3 separate regions of the Homo sapiens genome follow, and regions 1 and 2 are each linked to region 3. Evidence: promoter capture Hi-C in human tissues and cell types (Jung and others, 2019). All regions are on one chromosome and are shown on one strand. Each heading gives the region's core, a stretch centred on a gene start or on the middle of the fragment in contact. The rest is flanking DNA. Distances are from core to core; before and after follow the strand shown.

Region 1 (2,700 bases), core at 86-2,585, 89 kb after region 3:
GAGCCAGGGTTAATGGTTTACTGGGCCCGGTGACACATTGACCAGCCTCCCAGGGCTCTCAAAGTCCAGACTGGCCTGGCCTTGAAGGTCTTAGCTCGGCCACCTCCTTTTCCAGCTTTGACACCTCGGGGCTCAGGACGGGCCTAGGGTGGTCAAGAGGTCCCCTGCAGCCCTCACTTCCTGGAAAAGGCTCCATTTCCTGGCCTTCAGGCTCAGGTGGTTCCTTCTGCCTGTCAGGTCCTCCCCAAATCCAATCCCACCTCCGGCTGGATTCCCAAGGGCCCTATTCTGGTGTCTGCCCCTTCCGTAGGGCTCTTCCCCCTGGGGTGACCATACTGTCTCATGCCCAGCCAGGTCAGGGCTCCTTGAGAGAAGAATCTGGAGGGGCCAGGATTTGATGAGAGAATGAATGATGGAATGAAAGAAGGAAGGTAAGTATGCACCTTGCTAAGAGTGACAATACTGGCAGGCTGCAGACCATGTGTGGACCTCGATCTGAGGGCTGAGAGGCTTGGGCCTGCCAGTGCTGTGGGGGCACCCACCCCATCTCATTGAATGGGGCAGAGCAGGTGAGGGCGTGATGGATGGATGGGCCTCATCCCCCTGCTCCCACTGTCTGGGGTCCTCTGTCAGCCTGTCTGCTCAGACCCTTGAAATTGGGGGTTGAGGAAGGACCCTCCTGGATCATGTGACTCCCTTCAGTCCAGGTGACCAGGGTCCTTGGAGTGACAGCTCCTAGAGCCCCACCTGTAGCCCTGCAAGCTGGGGAGAGGGCCTGTTAGGAGAGGCATCCCCTGCCCTGGGGTTGTAGAGGTGATCTAGGCTCCTCAGACCTTGTGGGGCCTCAGATGCTTACATCTCCAGCCCCTCCTGGCGTGGGCATCTGGCTGCAGCCCAGCTCTGTGGCCCCATCTCCCAGGGAACCTTTGGTCTAATCTGCCTCCCACTGAAACCCAGCCTCATTCAGCCCCACCGAGGCTTTCAGAGTTCAGGTCTCTCATTCAGGGTTTGAGACCCCACCGGACTCAGACCTGCAGCGGTCCCAGATCACACAGCCCCAGGGATGGGACCAGCAGCCAGCCATTGTCCCACCTGCAGCAGTTCTTGTGCCTTTAATGCCTCCCCCGCACCGCACTGCCCGCCCCCATGCTGCCTGGGGAGGCGGGGAGGAGAGGAGCTGGGTCACAGCGGGGAATCTTAGCTTGGTTTTAGTGTGCTGCTGGACGACCAGATCCAGAGTCTGGTGAGCCAGTGAGTGAGGGCAGCTGGCTGTGGCCCAGCGCTGTGTGACCCGGAGGAGCCACTCACTCTCTCTGAGATGCTGGACATCATAAGTGGGGAAGCTCAGGCCAGGGGACTCCCAGGAGTGTCTGGAGGCCTGAGTTCCATTCTCAGCTCTGCCGTATGCTTGCTGTGCTCTAGAGGAGTTCCTCTTCCTCTCCGAGCCTCGGTTTATGCACCTGTGCAGTGGGAGTGAGTTGCACTTCGGGGTGAAGGGGGAAACTCACGTGGGCACATCCTGCAGAGGGATCCCACAGAAGGGGAGAGCCCTGGGTTCTCTATCCAACTGCGTCTGGGCTAGGGGGCGCCTCTGTTTCTTGGCTAAGTGGGTTTGAGAGAGGTATGCCGGTGGGTGAGGGAGGGCTGGGGCAGAGTCACCTGACTTATTCGAAGAAGCCCTTGAGAGAGCCGTGGCTTCTTGGAATTGAGAGGGAAGAGTGGGCCAGACGCAGTGGTCATGCGTGTAATCCCAGCACTTTGAGAGGCCAAGGCGGGCGGATCACGAGGTCAAGAGATCGAGACCATCCTGGCCAACATGGTGAAACCTCCTCTCTACTAAAAATAGAAAAATTAGCTGGGCGTGGTGGTGCGTGCCTGTAATCTGAGCTACTCGGGAGGCTGAGGTGGGAGAATCACCTGAACCCGGGAGGTAGATGTTGCAGTGAGCCGAGATCGTGTCACTACACTCCAGCCTGGGCAACAGAGTGAGACTCTGTCTCAAAAAAAAAAAAGGAGGGGAGAGTGCAGCATGAAGAAACAGACCCAGGAGGATCTGGCAGCCCTGAATGGGGGCGGGGGGTCAGCTCTGGAGTAGAGCCAGAGCTGTGATGGGGTTGGGGGACCCTGTGTCCTTGGGCCATGCTTGCCTCACTCCTGGGTTCTGTTTGTGGCTGTGGATTGGGGTGGGGCAGGGCCATTTGTGCAAGGGGTCATTGCCCAACTCCAGGGGGTGCCTGCCACCTCTCAGCTATATATATGGGGATATATATATAGTTCTTTCAACAGGTTTCCAGCAGGTAGTGGTTATTAAATCTTACTGAAGGGGTGTTTTTTCTAATTCTCAACACTGCACCGCATGGGTAGACAGCGTGGAAGATGGATTCCAACTCCAGGTCTGGGTAGTAAGCGTCCAGTCCAGGGATGTAGACAGGCCTGGAGAAGCCACAGAGATCTGTGCGTTCTCGTACCCAGGGATAGTGACTCCAGGCTGGGGGCTGGCAGGGTAAGGGATGGGTGGGTCCTGGGCTTACCTACAGGTCTGCAGACCTCCTGGGGCCAGCTGACCTCGGTAAATCCCTTTTGTCTAAGCTTCAGTTTCCTGCCTGTGAATGGGGTTGGGGCTGTGCTCTGGTTTCACCCTTGTGGCTCTGGGGTTGTGGTGACAAAGCCATCAAGCTGGGTTGAAGGATTAACCAGGAA
Region 2 (2,700 bases), core at 154-2,653, 72 kb after region 3:
CGGAAAGATGACCGTTGCGGGGGCTGATAGTAAACTGAAGTGTTTTCGGGGGGCCAGTTGAACAAAATGGAGGTGATGGTGCTGGTGATGGAGTAGACAGCTGAGTCAGAGGCCTGGCCTTCTCCCACACAACCCTCCAGGGCACCCCTGCGTGGTTCTGGGTCCCTGGCCTGTTGCTGCCAGTGTGGAGGACAGCCCCACCCTACCGTAAGCCATCAGTGCTGTCCTGGAAGGGGCAGACCTGGCCATACAGCAGGGCTGTACAGACCCTCGTGCGCCCTGGCGTCCCACAGACATTCTCTTCCCAAAGGCCCTGGAGCACAGCACTGTACACCTGGGCACTCAAGACTGCAGCTGCAGGCAGATTTGTGAGCAGCTTCCTCATCAAAGCTCCAGATCTGGGTCCCCTGGTCCTGGGGTTAGGAGGGAAGGGGCAGATGTCGGGGGGAGGAGGACAGGGAGAGCTGGGAAGCCACGGTGCTGAGGGGGATGGGTCTCTCAGTGGCCAGCTGTGACCCCAGCCTCCCCTCTGCTTTGCAGGGGACCTAAGTCTCCATTTACAGAACTCACTATTTGCCTCTTGTGGGGGAAGTCCCCAGATGTCAGCCTTCTCGTGGGAATTATAAGAAGTATGAGCCCCAGAGCTCCTTTAGTCTCTCCCCAGCCAGAGTCCACATATTTTCCCCCATGTTTTGTGGGTGAAAAGGCCCTTCAGAACCCTAAATCCACCCAGTTTATATTTGTTGCTGGGCTGCGTCATTCTAGTCAGAATCTGGGAGGATGCCACCATACGTAGAGGAGGCCATGAGGGTCTCACCTGTAACATTCTGTAGATATGACTTGTTTATTCTGTCTACTGTGAGTGCCTGACTCTGAGTAGAATCAAGGCCGGGGGATTGTCATCTGCTTTGTTTATGAAATTATGCCAAGCCCCAAGAAGAGCGATGCACAAATGAGGTGTTTTGAATGTATGTGTTGAATGAGTGAACCCCAACCTTTGGAGAACCCCAGTGAGCCTCTCCAGATGTCTGAGTGGGCCTGTGGCTCCTTTTTCAGCACCAAGGGACCCCTCTTCTGTCTGTGTCAAGGAGAAAGACCAGCCAGAAGGAATCTCAGACATCCTTTACCAGTGCCATCGCAGACTTGGTTTCTATGTGTTTTTCCAAACAGTGAGTGATACAGGCCATTGAGGCAGAATGCTGAGAGCTGCTTCAAGTGAGGGGGAAGAGAAAAGTAACAAACATGAATCACAGCACCCCCAGCAGATTTTCCAGAGTTTTAGGCTCTAGGGACCCCTTTGTTTGCTGTGTCTTAGATCATTGAGTCCCTACAAGAACCCTGTGAGGTTCGTCTTCTCACTACTCCCTGTTCCAGAGGAGCCAACCGAGGCTCCGAGAGGTGCATCTTCAAGACAGAGCCAGTAGGGGACAGAGGCACCTCTGTGTCTTGGAGGGGGATGGACACTCACCTTCTAACCAGTAGTTCCAAAAAGTGTGGCACAGTGATAAAGTCCCAGGAGGGGCCCAGGCAGGTGGCATAGGAGGAGATGGGTTTAGTTAGAAAGGCTGGAACCAGGGACTCCCAACAGCTTCTCCCCAGTGCCGGGCTGGAAAGTTAGCATCCTGCAGATCTCATTTTCATACTAGGGGGACAAGGAGGGACATGGGAGTCAGTGGTAACACCATGGACCACCAGAGGATCGGGATCTGGAACTCACACCAAGAAGCACCAACCCTTCAGGGACTTGTGCATATGGAGAACCTGGGTGCCCATGGTGAAAAGCGTTCTAGGCTTTCAAAGTAACATTGCATGTGAGGATGGAGAATGATAAAACGATTCCTGCCTTCAAGGCATCGTCCCGGTGTTTGTCAGCTGTGGGGCAACAGCACCCTCTGTGTCAGCAACCTGCATGAAGAGCATCATCCCTGCAAGTCCTCAAGGCCTGGGGAGGCCTCATCCCCTCCTCATTTCAGCAACAGCACACAGGACAATACGCTCTAGAAGAACTCTTTGACTTAAAGGTATATGATTGTTTTTGTTCCTTTAACATGAACGTGAGTCTGGAGAAACAGCTACGGCCATCCCAGCCCTGGCCAAGGGGAAAATGCCGGAAGACTCCAGGGTGGGAGGAAGCGCGTCCCAAGGCCCAGGATCTGCGAGGCGACTTGGGGAAAACGCAGGCAGGTATTGAACCCGTGAAAGGTTACGCAAATGTATGTTTGAAAGTGGAAATGAAACAAGGATTTTCTCTGCCACACAGACAGCAGGTTGGCGAAAAGTTAAAAGCGTGTTAGTATTCAGGGGAGGCTGCGTTCAGAGAAGCAGCTACCTTCAGAGGCTGCTGGTGACCGTGTGACCAGCTGGAGCCCTTTTGGAAAGTCAACTAGCTAGAGCTGTTGAAAGTTGATATCTGCATATCCTTTCACCCAGATATCCCTTTCCTGGGTGTCTGTCTGCTGCAGGGGATTTGTTTATTTTATGGGTTGAATTGTGTCCCCTTCCCCAAATGTAACTGTTTCTATTCTCAACCCCAGAGACTCAGAATGTGACTGTGTCTGGACACAGAGTACTCCAAGAGGTAATTCAGGTGAAGTGAGTTCATTAGGGTGGCCCCTAATTTAACATGCCTGGGGTTCTTACAAGGAGAGGGGGTCAGCGCACAGAGAAGTTCAAGAGAAGACCCTGTGCTGACTGAGATAG
Region 3 (2,700 bases), core at 174-2,673:
CTTGGGCCACCTTACTGATGATCCGAACGAGGACATATATGGCTCGCTCCTTCAGTAGGGAGTTGCCCATGGTCTGGGCCCGGGAAGCCCCTTCCTTCAGGTCCTCCTCCAGGCTCACTAGGTTGCCATCCTCAGCCAGGAGAGCAATGGTCGCTGGGAGGACATGGAGAGAGACTGGGCAGGGCTGGCACCCCTGCCTGGGACCCCTCAGCCCCTCCTTCTCCTCCCTGTCTCCTCACCATCTGGGGGCAACCCTGCTTTCTGCCTCAGGTGGGCGGTGAGGTTCACCAGCCTGCAAGAGGTGTTCACCAGCACCGAGCAGCCAGCTGTGGAGAGGGGCAAAGGTGAGCCTGTGAGATCTCTTACCTTCCTCCAAATCGGGGTCCTCTGTCTCTCCCTCCCATCTCTCCCTTTCCCAGAGCTGCGACTGGGCCTATGGGCTAAGACTGTGCCCCGGGCATAACAGCTCCAACATCTGTTGCTTAAACTGCCTTGGAGAACCCTCCATCCATCTCCCATGTGTGGTGACTTTTCTCCCATGTGTGGTGACTCCCAAGTGTTGGTCTCTTGAGTCCTGCAAAGCACGAAGTGGGCGCCAGCCCAGCCTCCTCCCGGGACCCGCCCCCACGGGACCCAGCCAGTCCCCGCCCTCCGCACCCACCGGCTCCTCTCTTCCCTTCCGCTACCGCACAGGGCCGACCCGCCTCCAGCCAGAGGCACGGGGACCCTGCAACTGTGGCTAGAGTTTCAGGTGTCTGATGCACGCTGAAGCTTGAGGATCACGGATTGAATGGCGAAGAGATTGTGCGGCTTAAAAACCTGCTCCAGGGTAATGCGGCGGTCTCTGGCCGAGAGGAACCCTTGTGAATGAGCAGGACTCAGCTCGGGTTTTCCCTTTAAGGGACTCGCTCCAGGTGCTGGCTTCGCCTCCTCACAGAGCCGCTTCCCCGACGACCCCCGCCATGTGCACCACCCCCCTTTCCCGCCATTGCCTCCCCACCCACCGCAAGGGCGGAAGGAAGCACGCCTCTGAGTGTGCTCATCCCCCTATCCGCCTACCAAGACAGGGGACCCCACTTACCCCCAAACATCACCTTGATAAACATAGCTGCAGCGGGTGAGGGAGATGTGGGGGGCTTTGATCCCCCAACTCTCGATTCCCCAACTAAGGAAAAGCGTGGAGCAGAGACCTGCTTCAGGGCCGGGCTCTGGAGGGAGAAGTGGATGTGTGAGTGTGGATGGCTGGGTCCCAGGGCCAGGCCCCTGCTCAGCCACCTCTGTGGTTCTGCTGCTTCAGCCTAGCTCAAACCCTGCAGCTAGTCCAAGACTCCTGGCCTCCTCTTCCTCCCCACTGAGCCCTGGGCCACAGCAGCTCCCCTAAGCTTCCAAGCTGGTCTCCATGGCAGTGGGGGCGGAGACATCTAGGCAGGAAATGCCTTCCTCCCTGTATCCGTTAACGGGGCCCATGGGGGAGAGGTGACAGAAGAAGTGGGGGCTGGCATTCCCTGAGGCGGGGAATGCCATCATTGGGATTGATTTTTTTTAGAGACAGTCTCCCTATGTTGCCCAGGCTGGTCTCGAACTTGGCTCAAGCAATTCTCCAGCCCCAGCCTCCCACAAGTGCTGGGATTGCAGTTGTGAACCACTTGTACAGTAAAGTTCACCCTTTCTGGTGTTTTAAAGTTATGCCAACTCTCATATAACCACCACCACAGTCAAGATACAGAACATTTCCATCACCCCCAAATTCCTTTGCCCCCTTTGTACTCAGCCCTAGTCGCTTCCAGGTCCATAGCAGGTCACAAGCACCTCCTTGTTAGCACTGGCCACTAGCTAGTCCCTCACACCGGTTCTCACCGTCATTTCCTGTCTTTTATTTATTTATTTATTAAGTTTATTAATTATTATTATTATTGGTGTTTTTTAAATTTTTATTTTTTGAGATGGAGTCTCCCTGTCACCCAGGCTAGAATGCAGTGGTACGATCTCGGCTCACTGCAACCTCCGCCTCCCGAGTTCAAGCGATTCTCCTGCCTCAGCCTCCCAAGTAACTGGGACTACAGGTGTGCACCACTACACCTGGCTAGTTTTTTTTTTTTTTTTTTTTTTTTTTGAGACGGAGTCTCGCTCCCTCGCCCAGGCTGGAGTGCAGTGGTGTGACCTCGGCTCACTGCAAGCTCCGCCTCCCGGGTTCACGCCTTTCTCCTGCCTCAGCCTCCTGAGTAGCTGGGACTACAGTCGCTCGCCACCACGCCCAGCTAATTTTTTTTGTATTTTTAGTACAGACGGGGTTTCACCATGTTAGCCAGGACGGTCTCAATCTCCTGACCTCGTGATCTGCCCGCCTCGGCCTCCCAAAGTGCTGGGATTACAGGATTACAGGCGTGAGCCACTGCGCCCGGCCTTTTTTTGTATTTTTAATAGAGATGGAGTTTCACCATATTGGTCAGATTGGTCTCGAACTCCTGACCTCAAATGATCCGCCCATCTTGGCCTCCCAAAGTGCTGAGCCACCAAGCCTGACCTATTTATTTTTTTTTGAGAATGAGTCTCGCTCTGTCAGCCATGCTGCAGTGCAGTGGCGCAATCTCGGCTCACTGCAACCTCCGCCTCTCGGGTTCAAGCGATTCTCCTGCCTCAGCCTCCGGAGTAGCTGGTATTACAGGCGCCAGCCACCACCCCTGGCTAATTTTTTGTATT

Evidence for each region. The method cuts DNA at HindIII sites, captures the fragments that hold promoters and counts their contacts. A contact is called where the count stands out against the background at its distance.
Region 1: a contact is called between a fragment that was not itself captured here and the fragment with the promoter of C22orf15 in region 3, in 2 of the 25 tissues and cell types used here (mesenchymal stem cells and thymus).
Region 2: the fragment with the promoter of RGL4 here is called in contact with the fragment with the promoter of C22orf15 in region 3 in 1 of the 25 tissues and cell types used here (mesendoderm cells).

Annotation. Positions count from the first base shown.
Region 1 is chr22:23,672,921-23,675,620 of GRCh38, reverse strand. It overlaps the pseudogene GUSBP11. Among named protein-coding and RNA genes, the nearest start is that of RGL4, 17 kb to the left of the region's middle. RefSeq lists an enhancer at 1,098-1,702. The HindIII fragment of the contact is 4,614 bases long and covers 1-2,700 here.
Region 2 is chr22:23,689,716-23,692,415 of GRCh38, reverse strand. RGL4 (ral guanine nucleotide dissociation stimulator like 4) reads right to left here and starts at 1,403. Exons shown (of 11, transcript NM_153615.2): 1 at 207-1,403; 2 at 1-81. The coding sequence starts at 385. It also overlaps the pseudogene GUSBP11. The HindIII fragment of the contact is 14,351 bases long and covers 1-2,700 here.
Region 3 is chr22:23,761,713-23,764,412 of GRCh38, reverse strand. C22orf15 (chromosome 22 open reading frame 15) reads right to left here and starts at 1,423. Exons shown (of 6, transcript NM_182520.3): 1 at 1,082-1,423; 2 at 240-326; 3 at 16-153. The coding sequence starts at 1,106. The HindIII fragment of the contact is 4,822 bases long and covers 1,078-2,700 here.